6 separate regions of the Homo sapiens genome follow, and regions 1, 2, 4, 5 and 6 are each linked to region 3. Evidence: promoter capture Hi-C in human tissues and cell types (Jung and others, 2019). All regions are on one chromosome and are shown on one strand. The core of a region is centred on a gene start or on the middle of the fragment in contact, and the rest is flanking DNA. Distances in the headings are between cores, read along the strand shown. Region 1 overlaps MRPS6 (mitochondrial ribosomal protein S6). Region 2 has its middle 43 kb from the start of LINC00649. Region 3 holds the start of DONSON (DNA replication fork stabilization factor DONSON). Region 4 overlaps IFNAR2-IL10RB (IFNAR2-IL10RB readthrough). Region 5 holds the start of LOC105372787 (a long non-coding RNA gene). Region 6 overlaps ITSN1 (intersectin 1).

What was found. Contacts are between HindIII fragments. The study calls those that stand out against the background at their distance.
Region 1: a contact is called between a fragment that was not itself captured here and the fragment with the promoter of DONSON in region 3, in 1 of the 25 tissues and cell types used here (lymphoblastoid cells).
Region 2: a contact is called between a fragment that was not itself captured here and the fragment with the promoter of DONSON in region 3, in 1 of the 25 tissues and cell types used here (IMR-90 fibroblasts).
Region 4: a fragment that was not itself captured here is called in contact with the fragment with the promoter of DONSON in region 3 in 1 of the 25 tissues and cell types used here (lymphoblastoid cells).
Region 5: a fragment that was not itself captured here is called in contact with the fragment with the promoter of DONSON in region 3 in 3 of the 25 tissues and cell types used here (hippocampus, lymphoblastoid cells and stomach).
Region 6: a contact is called between a fragment that was not itself captured here and the fragment with the promoter of DONSON in region 3, in 1 of the 25 tissues and cell types used here (mesendoderm cells).

Annotation. Positions count from the first base shown.
Region 1 is chr21:34,092,763-34,095,462 of GRCh38, forward strand. The region is part of intron 1 of MRPS6 (mitochondrial ribosomal protein S6); the gene reads left to right. SLC5A3 (solute carrier family 5 member 3) reads left to right here. Exons shown (of 2, transcript NM_006933.7): 2 at 2,101-2,700. The coding sequence starts at 2,437. Among named protein-coding and RNA genes, the nearest start is that of SLC5A3, 21 kb to the left of the region's middle. The HindIII fragment of the contact is 6,027 bases long and covers 1-2,700 here.
Region 2 is chr21:33,972,566-33,975,265 of GRCh38, forward strand. No RefSeq gene overlaps it. Among named protein-coding and RNA genes, the nearest start is that of LINC00649, 43 kb to the left of the region's middle. The HindIII fragment of the contact is 7,091 bases long and covers 1-2,700 here.
Region 3 is chr21:33,587,382-33,590,081 of GRCh38, forward strand. It overlaps DONSON (DNA replication fork stabilization factor DONSON), which reads right to left and starts at 1,303. Exons shown (of 10, transcript NM_017613.4): 1 at 940-1,303; 2 at 141-221. The coding sequence starts at 1,260. It overlaps CRYZL1 (crystallin zeta like 1), which reads right to left. Exons shown (of 13, transcript NM_145858.3): 13 at 1,960-2,540. The coding sequence ends at 2,441. RefSeq lists a silencer at 844-1,533 and an enhancer at 992-1,491. The HindIII fragment of the contact is 19,336 bases long and covers 1-2,700 here.
Region 4 is chr21:33,255,849-33,258,548 of GRCh38, forward strand. All of the region lies in intron 7 of IFNAR2-IL10RB (IFNAR2-IL10RB readthrough), which reads left to right. All of the region lies in intron 7 of IFNAR2 (interferon alpha and beta receptor subunit 2), which reads left to right. Among named protein-coding and RNA genes, the nearest start is that of IL10RB-DT, 9.1 kb to the right of the region's middle. The HindIII fragment of the contact is 5,563 bases long and covers 1-2,700 here.
Region 5 is chr21:33,193,812-33,196,511 of GRCh38, forward strand. LOC105372787 (a long non-coding RNA gene) reads right to left here and starts at 1,706. Exons shown (of 3, transcript XR_937675.3): 1 at 1,500-1,706. The HindIII fragment of the contact is 3,695 bases long and covers 1-2,700 here.
Region 6 is chr21:33,849,414-33,852,113 of GRCh38, forward strand. All of the region lies in intron 29 of ITSN1 (intersectin 1), which reads left to right. Among named protein-coding and RNA genes, the nearest start is that of ATP5PO, 65 kb to the right of the region's middle. The HindIII fragment of the contact is 3,852 bases long and covers 1-2,700 here.

The DNA of each region.
Region 1 (2,700 bases), core at 49-2,548, 510 kb after region 3:
TTCCCCCCCAACGGCCAGATGAAACCAGAAATACCCACTGTGTTTTTCTCTCCCTTCTTTGGAAAGCACGTGGTTGCTACTGCCATTGGGAAGAGTGATACCTGATTAGCCAGGTAGCCTTCTGAAAATTGAAACAAGTGGCCTGAGGATGACTTGGATGGCTGTTGGGTAGCAGAGAGCCCTGGAGGCAGGGTTTCATAACTGCGAACAGCAGTTTTCATTGTAATTGACACAGCAGTTTTCATTGTAATTGACAAGCTTCCCTTATGCAGAAACATTTAACGATACCTTTTTAAATAATGTTTACTAGTCATCTGATTAGATTTTATTAAAAATTTAGATGATTCGTCCTACATAATGTCAAAGCATTTGTTTAAAAACTTGGAAGCTTTTGGGGGTGGGGAAGGTGGTCATAGAAATATGATCATCTTCAGGATTTGGCAGGTATGAAGTGATACAAACCTCAACTTTTAAGATTTTTTTTTTTTTTTTTGCTTTTCTCTGGCAATCAATCTTATTTATGCCAGCCGTTGACACTTAGAAAGGATTTAAATCACTTTTCATAGCATAATTATTGTATTGCTTAATGCTTTAAAAAGGCACGCAGATGGGATTGAGACATTTCTATCCAGGCAGTTTTTTCTGCATTAGACCTAAGAACCTAATTTTGTAGGGCAGTAGTCTCTAGGCATTATGTTTAGCTCCTTTTGTCAGTGAGAAGTGTGTTGTAAAGTTTCTAATACTGTGGTCTGTTTTGAACGGTTTTGAGAAGAGGTAGCTTTAGTATAATTTATAGGACTTAAAAGGAAAATGCCTAGAATCATCAGAAAAAGCATGGAAAAACATTCTTCTCTGAGGTTGCCTTATTGGAAAAGGAGAAATCATTTAGAAGTTAATGTGTGGAAGGCATTAGGTTGAATAAAATTGTTGTTCGTATTGATCTGTCAGCTGCAATTACAATTAACTGAAAATTTAGTATTTGTCTCTTTTTCAGGAGAGAAGCCGTCAAATTTTAATACATTTAATTTTAGGTATATTTAAATGTCTGTTTTGCAGAGTGATTATCTTAATCCAGAACTGAAAAATTCCTGATGGTCCTACTGAAGATTTATCTAATGGTCCACAAATGTCTGTTTTGTTGAGGTTTGGCGGACATAATAATAAATCATTTTTTAGTCTTCTGAAAACTTTTCTCCTCCTCCCTCTTTTCTCTGCTTCTTATACCCTTCAACAAAAAGCATTAAAAGGAAAACATAAAATCACGCCTTTAGTCAGTGCCGTTATCCTCTCAGAGGTTGTTTTGGAAATACTGCCTGATGAAAAGGAAGAGAAGGAAATTGCTTCTTTTAAAGTTTGCTTTTTATCTTCTTGCAGCATCTTCTAACTGGCAGAAATAATACAATTTTTGAGTTGTTTTGTAAGTTGGATATTTTTAGTTTTGTGTGGAATGTCGTGTTTCCCATTAGGGCAGGGGGCGTCTCACAAGATCTAGGTTACTGTATGACAACTATATCCATTTACTGGAGTTTAAGAAGCTTTATAACAATACATTTCCAGAGACTAGGCAGTACTTGGTTTTCTGTATTTAAATTTTCTGAGGGTAGATGATAACATCTAGTAAACACCACCTGCCTGTTCCATCCAGGACCCTAACTGGCCATAAAGTTACCCCCAAACTCTCTTAGGATTCATAGTATTTTAAGATTTCATTTTTGTGCCCTTATTACGAATATAATTAGTGTTTTCTCCCCTTTAGGGTGCTTTAAGATCTTAGTGCCTGTCCTAATCTGAGCATACCACAGTAAGACAAGAAAGGGCAATGCTGTGGTAGGCAGTTAGCTGCTGAAGTTAGGCCACTTAGTTATGAGGTAGATGAATTTCTGTCCTCAGCTCAAAATGATAATATTCTCACTGACAAAAGTATCAGCTGTGATCATATAGATTGCTCTTTCCTGTGGAACTGAAGTGTATTAAAAAAATTTTTTTTCTTCCAATAAAGAATGTCTCGTTGCGCCGGGTTTGCTAGACTGAAAGTTTCCTCATCACGTGGCGAGACCTCCTCTACTTCAATCTTTGTCTTTTGTCTCTGCTGCCTTGCAGGGTTGGTACAGTAGGCTTCACTAGACTTAGCTGCAACTCAGAATTTCTCCTCCAGCACCTGAGTAAATGCTGATGGTCTTGTGGAGAGTGGATTAAGAGTACGAGCTAAGTTCTCAATCCCAATTAAGAAGCGGAAAATTTAAACTGTCTTCTTCAAAGTTTATCACAACCACCACCATCAAGACAGCAAACCAAAGGACAAAGACTTTGACCCTGCTGTGTTGCTCTGTGTAGTCCAGTTCACGTATGGTTTACAGACTTGGCTGGGGTTACTAAAAATAAATAAAAAGTTGGACACTTCTGTCATTGGAGCGCTATTATTCACAAGTTACCAGAATGAGAGCTGTACTGGACACAGCAGACATTGCCATAGTGGCCCTGTATTTTATCCTGGTCATGTGCATTGGTTTTTTTGCCATGTGGAAATCTAATAGAAGCACCGTGAGTGGATACTTCCTGGCGGGGCGCTCTATGACCTGGGTAGCAATTGGTGCCTCTCTGTTTGTGAGCAATATTGGGAGTGAGCACTTCATTGGGCTGGCAGGATCTGGAGCTGCAAGTGGATTTGCAGTGGGCGCATGGGAATTCAATGCCTTACTG
Region 2 (2,700 bases), core at 12-2,511, 390 kb after region 3:
AATGAAAAAAGATAAAATTTGTGAAGAGGCACATAATGAAAGCCCATACATGTCACTGAGTTCAGAGGAGGGTGGGTCTGACCTCCCATTGGCTGGTCTCTGCCTGATGGACATCGTGAAGAAGAGAGCCAGGACTAGTGTGGCTGGGGGATGTTCAGGGGCCAGAGTGGCTTCAGGTGCCAGCAGCCCTGGCCGAAGGATGACTCCAGGAGCAAGGCTCAGAGCCGAGTGGAAGAAGCTTCATAAACGCAACTGAGCCAAGCATGATGGGATGTGCCTGTGGTTCCAGCTACTCAGGAGGCAGGTGGGAGGATGGCTTGAGTCAGAAGTTCGAGGCTGCAGTGAGCTATGATCACACTACTGTACTCCAGCCTGGGTGACAGAATGACACCCTGTCTCTAAAAAGAAAAGGCACCTGGATGCTCATGACCGAGATGGGGTGGGGTGGGTGGGGTGGGACAGCCGCACTTTATAACTTTGCTTTCAGCATGATGTGGATTAGTGTCTCCCATGTGGGAAAATTATGTTTACCACTTAGAGACCTGATAGTGCTTGCTTACCCCATAACGCTGGACGGTGGCAGGCTTAACTCCCCCATCAAGGGCCTTAATGTATTTGGGGCCCTAGTCCTAGCAACAGCAGCAAATCTCCTTTTTCTTTTCCTCGAGCTGGTTGTTCACCAGGCAGTTGGGATGTTAATGGGAAGAGAAGACACACACAAGTCCCTTGTTTTCAATAAGGCAGTCTGGTCACGTCCTTAGCAGGTTATTAATCTTTTTCAAACCCCTCCTCTCCACCAAGTTTTATGATCCTGGGAAGGAGATTCCTACCTAGCATCCTTAGAGTTATCGGGGGTTAGGATCGGTGCATGCAGTCACTTCCGTGGAATCATCAGTAGCCCTCCAGCCTCTGGGGAGAGCTGCCAGTGGTCAGAGATGTTGGGAATTACGAGGGAGGAGCTAGGGAGAAGGAACTCACAGTCCCTCAGTCTCTGAAGGTGGCTCCTGGCAGGAGAGGGGGCCAGTCCTAGATAAGAGCTCTCCCAGGGAATTCCAAGGGTCCTCCCAAGGTCCAGCCACAAGATGAGGAATTACTGTTGGGCTCTTCCTCAGATGTGCCTGTGAATTCATATCACAGATGCTTGATGCATTTGACAATTGTTTAATTGCTTGAGCCCAACTGATACTCTTTCAGTCACTTTAAGGGAGTGATTTCAAGTATGATCATTGCCTCAAATCTGTATGGCTTTCCTTGCCTTTCAGGTGCTTTAAGAGGGCTTATGTTCTTTGACTCCCCTAGTAACTCAAAAGGGTGGCTAAGATGCAACTCTGGAGGTTTCCAAGCTCTCTGCAAAGCCTGCCTTCAGTAGTCTGTGCACCACAAGAAGCATAACTTTATTATCCTCTAGCTGAATTTACCTCCTGCTTCGAGCCCCTGTTTTCCCATGTCATTTTAGGGGTCCAATGTTTTTCCTGGAGGCATATACACACACACACACACACACACACACACACACACACACACACACACACACACATATATACACACACACATTCCAGGGGCCTCTGAGGTGCCAAGACATGTGTGGGGTCCATCTGGTTCACACTGATGTCCATGATCATTGAGTTCATTTTTTATATCAACTATGTGACACTTCCTATAGTTTCCAGTTCCTGGTTAGAATTTGCAAAGTTGCCGACTATTTCTTTGAATAGAGTAGCTAGATCATGGGTCTACACCAGTCATCAAGCAGCGATTTCCCTGTTGGAAGCTCCAAGCAAATTGTCAGCTCCAGCATTCCACACAGCTGTGGGTGCCACACTCCTTTTCCTTTTAAAAGATGATGATCTGCTAGTGGTGAATGCTCTTGGAGTTTTATTTGTAGGTTTTTCTTGTTGTCGCAAATGTCTATATTTCATCTTCCCTCTTGAGGGATATTTTCCATGGGTAGAGGATCTAGGCTTTTCTTTTGGATTCCATTGTGGCTTTAAAAAAAAGTCAGTTGACTGTTTATTTATGGCTTCTCTAAAGGTGATCTCTTTCTTCCTAAGGCTGCTTTAAAAGTTTCCGTTCCCTCCCTCCCTTCCTCCCACCCCATCCCCCTTCTTCCTTTCCTTCCTCCCTCCCTTCCTCCCTTCTCTTCCTCCCTTTCTCCCTTGTCTTCCTCCTTTTCTCCCATCCTCCCTTCCTCCCTCTTTCCTTCTTTTTTCCCTTCCTCCCGCCCTCCTTCCTTCTTCCATCATTATATATTAAAATATTTTCTTTCTTTCTTTTTTTTTTTTGAGATGGAGTTTCGCTCTTGTTGCCCAGGCTGGAGTGCAACGGTGTGATCTTGGCTTACTGCAACCTCCACCTCCCTGGTTCAAGCGATTCACCTGCCTCAGCCTCCCTAGTAGCTGGGATTACAGGTGCCCGCCACCACACCCAGCTAATTTTTGTAATTGTAGTAGAGATGGGGTTTCACCATGTGGGCCAGGCTGGTCTTGAACTCCTGAACTCAGGTAATCCACCCGCCTTGTCCTCCCAAAGTGCTGGAATTACAGGCATGAGCCACCACTCCCAGCCTATTAAAATATTTTCTTCTGGGCCTTCCCTCCTTTTACTTCTTTTGATACCGCCATCAAATGCATGTTAGGTTGACTCACTGTGTACTCTATTACCCTCTCATCTGGTTTTTAATCTTTCTGTCTCCTTATACTG
Region 3 (2,700 bases), core at 53-2,552:
ATGATCAAGCCTCTCTGTAAAACTACTTTCCAAGCAAAATGCTTCTGAGAAGTATAAATGTATTTTTAAAAATAGGCTCAAATCCTATGAAAAAAAAGTTTATACAAATACACATTCTAATGATATTTAAAAAGTATTACCTGAGGTAATTCAGTAACAGTTGTTCTTTCAGGAAACTTCTCTTCCCATAGCAAATCATTTTCTTGATTAGAATCTAAAAACTGAGGTTAAATATATTCTCCTTTAAAATTTAAAGGATGCTGAAGTTTGCGTTAAATATGTACAGAGCCTCACCTGGCATACATGTTTCTCAATAAACGCAAGTACACCTAAATTCAGAGGCACCCCATCCAATCTATGAGTTTCAACACTTCAGTTTTGTGTCTGAACTTTAGTATCAAAATTGAGGGGAACAGGGACCGGCGTTTCAAACCGAAAGATCCAAAAGGCTTTGGGTAAGACAGATGCTAGTGAATTCTGACCCCACGAATCCTCGACATTCCCCCATCTCCAGAATAATTTGGAGTGCGTGAGAGAAGGGAGGCCCTAAATCACGGGGGAAGCAGGGCTTGTCACCTGCCCCATCGAACAGCGTCCTTGCAAGATGGGGGCTCTCAGGGTTTTTCGAGCTCTTTTCCAAGTCACCTCTAAGTCCTCTCCAAGGGGCTCCTCGCTGCCCTCTGGGGCCCCCTCACTTTCCTCGGGAACGCGTCCCGTGAGCACAGCCCGCAGCGGGGTAGCCAGGGGAGCGCTCTTCCCACAAACCCGGCCTTGCCAGAATCGCGGCTCCCAGGGCGGGGTACCCTAAGGCCACGGGCGGCCGAAGTCTTCGCGCCCATTTCCTTGCCTCGAACGCGAGGACTTTCCATCCCCCATTCACAGCTGGCTCAACCCACGAAAGACAAGAGCCCCTTGGCGGCCAGGCTACAAGACACTCACCGGGACCGGGGCCTCCGGCTGCTCGCGGGCCGGCCCGTCGGGGGGCTCCGCGGCGACCCGCGGTCGGTTGTCCAGGCGGGCGAAGGGGTTCCTCCGAGCAGCGGCCGGGCCGCCGCCGCTGCCACCGCCTCTGCCCCCCGCAGCAGGGAAAGGGCGAAGAGGCAGCCCCGCCACCAGGGCGGCTCGGCGGGCCGCCGGCTCCGTCAGCTCACGGGGCGGGGAGGCGGCAGCTCCACGGCTCCGGGCCCTTTTCCGTCGGAGCCGCACTACCTCGGGCGGCTTTCGGAAGCCCGGTGAGTAGCCGGGCACCGAAAGGGCCATGACGCGCGGCGGCTGAGGGTAGCCGGCCGCCCTACAGAGACTTCCCGCGCGCGCCGGGCCCGCCCCTGACGTGGCGCCTCGCCGAGCTCCCGCCCCCGACGCGGCCCCGCCTCCGCCCCCGCCGGTTCCGAGCGGAGCATGCGCAGTGGGCAGCCCGCGAGACGCAGCCCGCAGCGGCGATCCCGGGTGGCCGTCAACGCCCACTGTCCCAGCGGTGACCCTGCCCTGGCGCTTCTGCCAGGTCCTCGGCCAGAGTCCAGTCGCCAGGTTCAGCGACGCTTCTGGAAAGTATGCGATCCAGGGCGCTGATGTGCACTACCCTGTGGGGCACCGAAATAGCTTAACTCTATTTAAGCCCGCAGCAGGGATGTGATCAGCCCGGGGTTTGGCGCCTGGATGAAAAGGAAACAAACTTGAGCTGCGGCGATGGGCTGCTGCTTCCATAAACTTAAGAGAGGGCAGTGGCTACTGCTCTCAAGAGGCGAGGAGAGGGGACTAGGCCACCTTCCTCAACCCCCAGAGAACTCAGATAAGACGTCAGCACGCTTCCTATGCCAGCGCAGCCTACCGACATCCCTCCCTTCCCCGTTCCCAGTGCCTGGTCATCTCAGACTTCCAGGCAGCTGCCACTGGCAAGTTAATGGGATCTTCTTTGATCCTGGGGAAAGCCGGAGTGAATGAATAGTTGAAAACACAAAATTTAAGTGCCTATGGGCTAAGTCTTTTAAGACTTCAAAATATACTCAAATGCTTAAATTATGACAGCAAAGACTTAAGGAAGGTGTTGAGAACGGAGTTGATACAAAATTAATACGTTACTTTGATAGCTTAGCAAAGGCCTGCAACAGCTTTTATCAAGAGTAGTGTGACTTTTGCTGAAAGCAGCAGTTTTCTTCATGGAAGGAATTTTATAGCAGGGGCAAAATATATAGAAACAATGAAAAGGTTTTTAGAAAAATTCCCTTAAGATGTTAATTATAGAATTATCTTGATCATTTGCACAAGAATTTTTCAAACACTTTTCAAATGTGTCAACTGAGCATCTTGTCTTAGCAGAGAAACGTGCTTAAAAATGCAACTTGTTTTATCTTCCTTGGTTTTTCTCAACAATTTCCAAAGAAAATTCTGGCTTCAAATACTGGAATATGTTCATCCGACTGAGGTCTGAGAAAGAAGAAAATTAAAATTGAACAACTTGCTTTTTTCTTCCTTGATTTTTCTGAACAGCTTCCATGGAAACTTTTGCCTCATACAGTGGAATGGGTTCATCCAACTGAGGTCTGAGAAGGAATGAAATTAGAAATGTCAGGTCTAGTTAAAGATAAGTAGAACAAACAGGGTGGTATATGACAAATGCTAGTGCTCAAATCTATTAGTGTATTAATTAATTTTTTGAGACAGAGTCTGGCTCTCTCATCCAGGCTGGAGTGCAGTGGCACG
Region 4 (2,700 bases), core at 143-2,642, 330 kb before region 3:
CCTGCCCCATCACCTCACAAGCATAAACTCATATGTGGCCCCTAAAAGAGGCTTGTTAACAAAAGACACTCCTAACGTTCAGGAAATTCCACAGGTTTTTGAAGCTCTGCTCCAGGAACTAGGGACAAAGACTGGATATATATGTATATTTTATTATATCATTGATCTTACATACAAACGAAACTCTTATAGACAATAAAAACTGAAATTAGTGACCTGGCAGACAGATGGTGGTTTATTGAAACTCAGTCCCCAGTTCCAAGGTGAATGTGTTGCTGATGAGAAGGCACAAGCTCCTTGGAGGTTGATGAATTCTGTGATGACTCACTTTCTCCCCTGACTCTTTTCCATTTCACCTACTAAGATGTTCATGTAACAACATCCTCTCAGGTCATTCCATTTTTACTTGGCGTGAATGCGTCATGTTGCACATCAAGTCAGCCCTCATTCTTTGATTATTACCCGAGATAGGTCAAGTACCGCTCTCTTTAATTATCCAAATACTGTACCTGATGTCAAATTCTTGTTTGAAACTCAGGAAGCAAATAGGTTCAGATAACGTGGCCTCTGTCACTATCTGCTTGCCATCTGACGTGCCCTCAACCAGCCAAACTCAGAAACCAGACAGGTTTGGATGGTGAGGGGTCTTGGAAGGATAGCCTGAGACCAGCATTAACATAGGCTCAGCAGTAAGCACTGTGACCCAATCCTAGGGCAGACTGATATGGGGGGATTTTAGCCCAGACATCTGGAGAAACACCTTCCCCTTGTCAAGCCTTAAAACTAATGGTTTGTCTCTTTTATTAATATTAAGGCCCTAAGGAAAAGCTCTATTCATTCATTTGACAAATGTTTATTGGGGGCCTGTTATGAGCCAGATTCTTTTCTGGATATTGAGGATTTAGCAGTGAACAAAACAGATTAAAAACTTCTCACCTTGTGGAGCTTACATTGCAGTAGGAGACAGAATAACAAGATCAACATGTAAAATAGACAGTATGTTAAGTAAGTACCATGGAAAAAAATTATGCGGGAAAGGAGGTGAGGGGGATGTCAGGTTGAGGAGAGCAGGTTGCTGTTTTTAATAGGATAGTGTCTTGATTTGCATTTGCTAGAAGCAGAGCCTGGGATGTGAATTCATATTCAAGTGTGATTTATTGGTGGGGGCATCTTAGGAGAAGGGGAAAGAGGGAACAGGTAGGTACAGGGAGAGAGAAATTAAGCAGGCATGTGGCTCTCAGCTGAGCCTGATCCCAAGGGGTTCTCGGAAGCGTGAACTGTATCCTCAAGTCAGCAGCCAGTCAGTTACTGGTGGTGATCTATGGCATGGCCTCCAGATGAGGCAGCCCCCTTTTGGGCAAGGGCAGTTCCTTATGTGTCCGGAGTTGGTTCCTGCCAATGGGTTCGTGGTCTCGCTGACTTCAAGAATGGAGCCGCAGACCTTCCTGGTGAGCGTTAACAGCTCTTAAAGATGGCACAGACCCAAAGAGTGAGCAGTAGCATGGTTTATTGTGAAGAGCGAAAGGACAAAGCTTTCACACCCTGGAAGGGGACCTGAGCGGGTTGCCACTGCTGGCTGGAGGTGGCCAGCTTTTATTCCCTTATTGTCCCTTCCCGTGTTCGTTTCTGTCCTATCAGAGTGCCCTTTTTTCAGTCCTCCTCGTGATTGGCTACTTTTAGGATCCTGCTGATTGGTGCATTTTACAGAGCGCTGATTGGTGCGTTTTAGAGTGCTGATTGGTGCGTTTTACAGAATGCTGACTTGTGCATTTTACAATCCTCTTGTGAGACAGGAAAGTCCCTGATTGGTGCGTTTTACAATCCTCTTGTAAGACAAGAAAGTTCCCTAAGTCCTCACTCCACCCAGGAAGTCCAGCTGGCCTCACCTTTCACTTAGAGAAGGATCAGCTCTGAGAGATATCAGCAGACACGTGCGGCAGCAGTAGTGGGTGTGCACTGACTGGAAAAGGGGACATGGGCAGGCCACCCACAGCATCCACCACAGATGGCCACAGATGGCCTTCCTGAGAAGGTAGCATTTGAATAAAGACCCAAGGGAGATGTGGTAAGCAGAATAATGGCCCCCAAAGATGTCTACATCCTAATCCCAGATATGTGAACAGGCTAACCTCTATGCCAAAGGGGCTTGTGGGTGTGATGAAATTGAAGATCTTGGCCAGGCGCAGTGGCTCATGCCTGTAATTCCAGCACTTTGGGGGGCCGAGCCAGGTGAATCACCTGAGGTCAGGAGTTCGAGTTCAGCCTAGCCAACGTGGTAAAACCCCATCTCTACTAAAAATACAAAAATTAGCCAGGCGTGGTGGCATGCGTCTGGAGTCCCAGCTACTTGGGAGGCTGAGGCAGGAGAATCTCTTGAACCCGGGAGGTGGGGGTTGCAGTGAGCCAAGATGGTACCACTGTACTCCAGCCTGAGCTACAGAGCAAGACTGTGTCTCAACAAAAAGAGAAGCAGGAGACTCAGAGGCAGAGAAGGAGCTCTCACAGCAGCAGCAGAGGTCGCAGAGTGAGGATGAAGGAGGGGGCCATGAGCAAAGGAATGCAAGTGGCCTCTAGAAGCTGGGAAAGGCAAAGAAATGGGTTTTCCCCTAGAGCCTCCATAAGGAGTTCAGTCCTGCCAACATCTTGATATTTTTTATCCCAGTGAAACCCATTTTGGATTTCTGATCTCCAGAACTATTA
Region 5 (2,700 bases), core at 71-2,570, 390 kb before region 3:
GAGGAGCCACACATCCCACATCAGAAATAGCCTTTGGAAAACTGCAAACTGGATTGCGTGTGCGTTTGGCTGCAAAATAAATCATGAGTTTCTCCCAAACATTAGATGGACAAAGGAACAATTCACTTTTTTTCCCCACTGTGATCCATTCACAATGGAGTATATTCCTGGAGGATTCTAAGATGTGTTTTGTTCACTAGAGAAGACTTTTTAGGAGTGTTTAGTTTAGGAAATGCTTAGCTGGCTATAGAAGACAGGCGCACATTCTTATCTGACTACAGAATCCAGGTGTCACCTGTGGAGTTAACACAAGGCCACAGATGGCCGCCTTCAAGGTGACCCTGCCCAGAGCCTAGGGAACAAGGTGAGGGTTGACTGAGAAGGGAAATGGTGGTCCTGCTGAGAAGGACATTCCCCAAGCTCATGGTCTGGTCCACAAGCCATCGGTCACACAGAGGGTCACACAGATATGGGATGCCCAGTTAAATTTTAATTTCTGATAAACAATGAATTTGTTTAGTATAAATAAATATGTCGTAAATATTGTATGGGACATACTAAAAACATTACAATATAATTTAGTACATGTACTATGTACTAGTATATGTACTAAATTTTATATATGTGTATTTTAATATTAAAAGTTAGGCCAGGCACGGTGCTCACGCCTGTAATCCCAGCATTTTGGGAGGCCGAGGCGGCCGGATCACCTGAGGTCAGGAGTTCAAGACCAGCCTGGCCAACATGGCGAAACCCTGTCTCTACTAAAAATACAAAAATTAGCTGGGTATGGTGGCAGGTGCCTGTAATCCCAGCTACTCAGGAGGCTGAGGCAAGAGAATCTCTTGAACCAGGGAGGCGGAGGATGCAGTGAGCCGAGATCGCACCACGGCACTCCAGCCTGGGCAACAGAGTGAGATTCTGTCTCAAAACAAAAAAAAAAAGGAAAAAGAAAAAGAAAAAAAGTTAGTATGTTATACCCAACACATATTCAAGGTTGATCTGAAATTCAAATGCAACTAGGTATCTTGTATTTTTGCTAAATGTGGCAACCCTCGCACACAGCGATTCGCTAGTGGCTTTGGAGGGCAGAGGAGGTAGTTCCCTGAGCCCTCCACGTGACTTTTCCTTCTGTCCTCCCCTTCTCTGCTCAGAGGCCCCTTCCTGGGAGAAGGCTTCGCTGATCACTCTGTATACCACTGCACCCTTTTCCCACACTCCCGGCCCCCTTAGCCTGCCTTTTCCTCCATAACTTATCATTGGATGACATACTACATACTTTGAGTAAATGATTTTTTTCATCTTTATTCTCAGCCCTTTGTATTATGTCTGCCACAGAGTGGGCCTTAAAAAATATTTGTGGAACTGCATGAATGAGAGTGACTCCATGGACAAGGATAAAACACTGAAAGTAAAATAAAGGCAGAACTAAGGTAAATGAGTATTGCCATTTCGACTCACCTGATAGATCTGTGTGTTTTAGTCAGTGCAAAACTCACCTGGCGAAGGGAACACCAATGAATAAGATGACGATTAGGTAGGTCCAAGGTGGGGCCCAAGATTCTGTAGCCCTACCACGTTCCCAGGTGATGCCGATGTAGCAAAGAGAGTCCTTGAAGAGAGGCAGGGCACGGTGCTCACGCCTGTAATCCCAGCACTTTGGGAGGCTGAGGCAGGCAGATAGTTTGAAGCCAGAAGTTTGAGACCAGCCTGGGCAACATGGTGAAATCCAGTCTCTACCAAAAAATACAAAAGTTTATCAGGCATTGTAGCATACACCTGTAATCCTAGCTACTCAGGAGGCTGAGGCACGAGAATCACTTGAACCCAGGAGGCGGAGGTTGCAGTGAGCCAAGATCACACCACTGTACTCCAGCCTGGGTGACAGAGCAAGACTCCAACTCAAAAAAGAAAAAAAAAAAAAGAAAGAAAAAGAAAAAGAGAGAGAGAGAGAATCATTGAAGAAAGCTTGGATCCAGGTAAAAATAAAGAGCAGGACACAACCAGAAAAGTCTGTGGTTCTGTTATATCATTGGACAGTGTAATGAAATGTAATGTGTTTTAAAAAATAAAAATTCTATATTCCTAAATCTTGAATAGATTCCTATTTCAGAAACCATCCATTCTGATGAGTCTCCCTTAGCTCTGAAAGAAAGAGGATAAAAACCAAATACAAGAATAATAAAAACCACCTGTCCAAGATGAACTGGAGAAAGGGTGCTAATCTCCCTGCGACAACTCCTACAACTGTATTTGATCAGGATGATAAGAAAAGTTTTAACTCATGCCTCAAGCAGAGCCACAAGACCTGCCTTTTTTGATGACCTTGAATTCTACAACACAGGCTCCAAACCTCACATCTTGTCAACTCTCACCATGAGAAAAGTAGGAAACACTCTCTCACGTTCCCAAGTACTCACCATACCCCCCAAAATAAGTAAAAGCTTACTTTAAAAAATAATTTGTTTTCAGAGCAGAAATCTTCTAAAAGTTGAATTCTGATTCCGTACACACCTGCGGAGAGGTACTTGCCATGCCCACTGTCTAATATGCTTCTCTTTCTATGAACTAGGGTAGGGGTTACAAATAGCTGCCATAGAGTTACTGTCATTATCAGCCTGCAATCTGTGAGCAGCTGTTAAAAACCCACATTTTGTCTCAATTGTAATCATTCAAACAAATAATGCTTACCTACAGTTC
Region 6 (2,700 bases), core at 75-2,574, 260 kb after region 3:
ATATTAGCTGGGCGTGGTGGCGCATGCCTGTAATCCCAGCTACTCGGGAGGCTGAGGCACGAGAATTGCTTGATCCTGGGAGGTGGAAACTGCAGTGAGCCAAGATTGCACCATTGCACTCTAGCCTGGGCAACAGAGCAAGACTCTGTCTCAAAAAAAAAAAAAAAAAAAGACCTAGTATTTGATACCACAACAGAGCAACTACAATAGTAATTTAATTGTACATTTAAAAATAACTAAAACAGTGTAATTGGATTGTTTGTAACACAAAGGATAAATGCTTGAGGGGACGGATACCCCATTCTTATGATGTGATTATTACACATTGCATCCCTGTACCAAAATAGCTCAGGTGCGCCATAAATATATACACCTACAATGTACCCACAAAACTTAAAAATAAAACAAAAACCAACAGGCTCCTCCTTCATATTCCAATAAAAATGCATTTGTACTTTCATTATAACATGCCAGTCTGCCTTTGTACCCAAAAAACTTATTAACAGGAGCTACTCATACTACAGGAGAGGGCACAGTGAGAGCAGGAAGTCAGGGGTGGGACATAGAAGGGGCCTGGAATGAGCTGAAGCATACCTACCACAGAGGATGTAAAGCTGTGCCAGGAATTCCAGTGCCCATTATGAAGCTATGAATGATACACCCTTTCACTCTCTGAAATGTGCATATTTATGGAAAATTAAGAGATGATTTATCCCTGAGAAGAATTTGATCTTCACCACTTCTCAGCAGTAATTAAACTGCCTGGCAACCCCTGTGGACTGGATTCCCCTCCTTGGGAGAAAACAAAGCTTATTTGGAGTTACATTGGCACTTTTAAGCATCTGGGTTACATCTGAATGGAAGCCTCCCGAGGACCCAGCTACATGGGGCAAGATGTGTCACCAGGACAGGCTGGGTGGGATACCTGAGCTCTGCTGGACCCACGAGGGTCTCTGGTGCCTTTGGGGGCATTCCTTCCCCTCTCACCTCTGTGCCCACCGGCTTCTCCAGACCCCATTAAAAATCGCATCTTGAGGATTTGCAACTCCGAGGTCTCAAGGACTGATAACCGCTTGGAGTGATGCCCTGTGCAAAGTGCCTGCAACTCAGCAAGGATCCAAGTTGGCCTGGGACTCCCAGGTCTAGCAACCAGCAGGCTCCCAAAGGACAAGGACCCGGACTGCCTCCTTCTCACTGAACCCCGGGGCCGAGCGTGGATGCTGCTTCACAGCAGGAGTACACAACTTCATGGCTTGGAGAACGCTGGGGTTTCAGACATCAGCTGCAGGGTAAAGGGACATAGTGTTTGGCCAGAGAACTTTCTTCACGTCATATCCATGTGGCTTCATCTGCTTTTCCTACACGACAGGCCACCCCACACCTACCAGGAGAGGCCCAGGGTGTTGAAGGGAGTGCAGTTAGATTAATTTGCCCAGGAGAAGCCAGTGCAGCTCTGGGGTGCATGGGCTCACCTGGCAGGAGAGACTTGGTCCATGGGGAGAAGCCTGCAGTATAGATGGGACCTCCAGGAGCCCAAGTAGCATAGACCCTGCTGATCCGGGGCCATTGAGCCAGAGGATTTGGGCTGAATGTCCCCAGAGACAAAAGGGAAAGGTAGATCCTTTCCCTTAAAGATGAAAGCCATCGCCCGGGCTTGCTTATTGCTCTCTCTCCTGGTCCTTCCACATGTTGTTTCTGAACATTTGTTCTGGCATCACAATCCCCGTCACCCTGTCATCTGGCCCTTCCCACCTTTCCACCTTATCTCTTGCAGTGTCTCCGCGTCGACCTGGCACCTGGGTGAAGGCTTGCTCTTGCTGGTGCCCATAGCCCCCAGTGTATGGTCTTGACCTCCCCAGCCATATGGAGACCCAGCCTCAGGAGGGCCCCTCGAGGAAGCCTCCCCTTAGCACGAGGAGTTGCTCCCTTCTGAGGTCCTACTGTCTCCACCATCAGCACAGCACACGGGCTCTTTTTTCTTTTCTTTTTTTTCTTTTTTTTTTGAGACAGAGTCTCGCTCTGTCACCCAGGCTGGAGTGCAGTGGTGCGACCTCAGCTCACTGCAACCTCCACCTCCTGGGTTCAAGCGATTCTCCTGCCTCAGCCTCCCGAGTAGCTGGGATTACAGGTGCCTGTCACCATGCCCAGCTAATTTTTGTATTTTTAGTAGAGATGAGGTTTCACCATGTTGGCCAGGCTGGTCTTGAACTCCTGACCTCAAGTGATCCACCTGCCTCAGCCTCCCAAAGTGCTGGGATTACAGGTGTGAGCCACTGCACCCGGCCTGGGCTCTTTTTTTAATGCTTGCTATTTTAATTTCTTTTTTTTTTTTCTCGTTTTTTTTCTTTTCTTTTCTTTTCTTTCCTTTTTTTTTTTTTTTTTTTTCCTGAGACAGGTGCTCGCTCTGTTGCCCAGGCTGGAGTGCAGTGGTGCGATCATAGCTCACTGCAGCCTCTATTTCCTGGGCTCAGGTAATCCTCCTGCCTCAGCCTCCCAAGTAGCTGGGATTACAGGCATGTACCACCATGCATGGATAATTTTTTAAATTTTTTGTAGATATGGGTGTCTCTCACTATGTTGCCCAGGCTGGTCATGAACTCCTGGGCTCAGGCAATCCACCCACCTCTGCCTTCCAAAGTACTGGGATTACAGACATAAGCCACCAAGCCCAGCTGCTTGCTATTAATATTTTTAATTTAA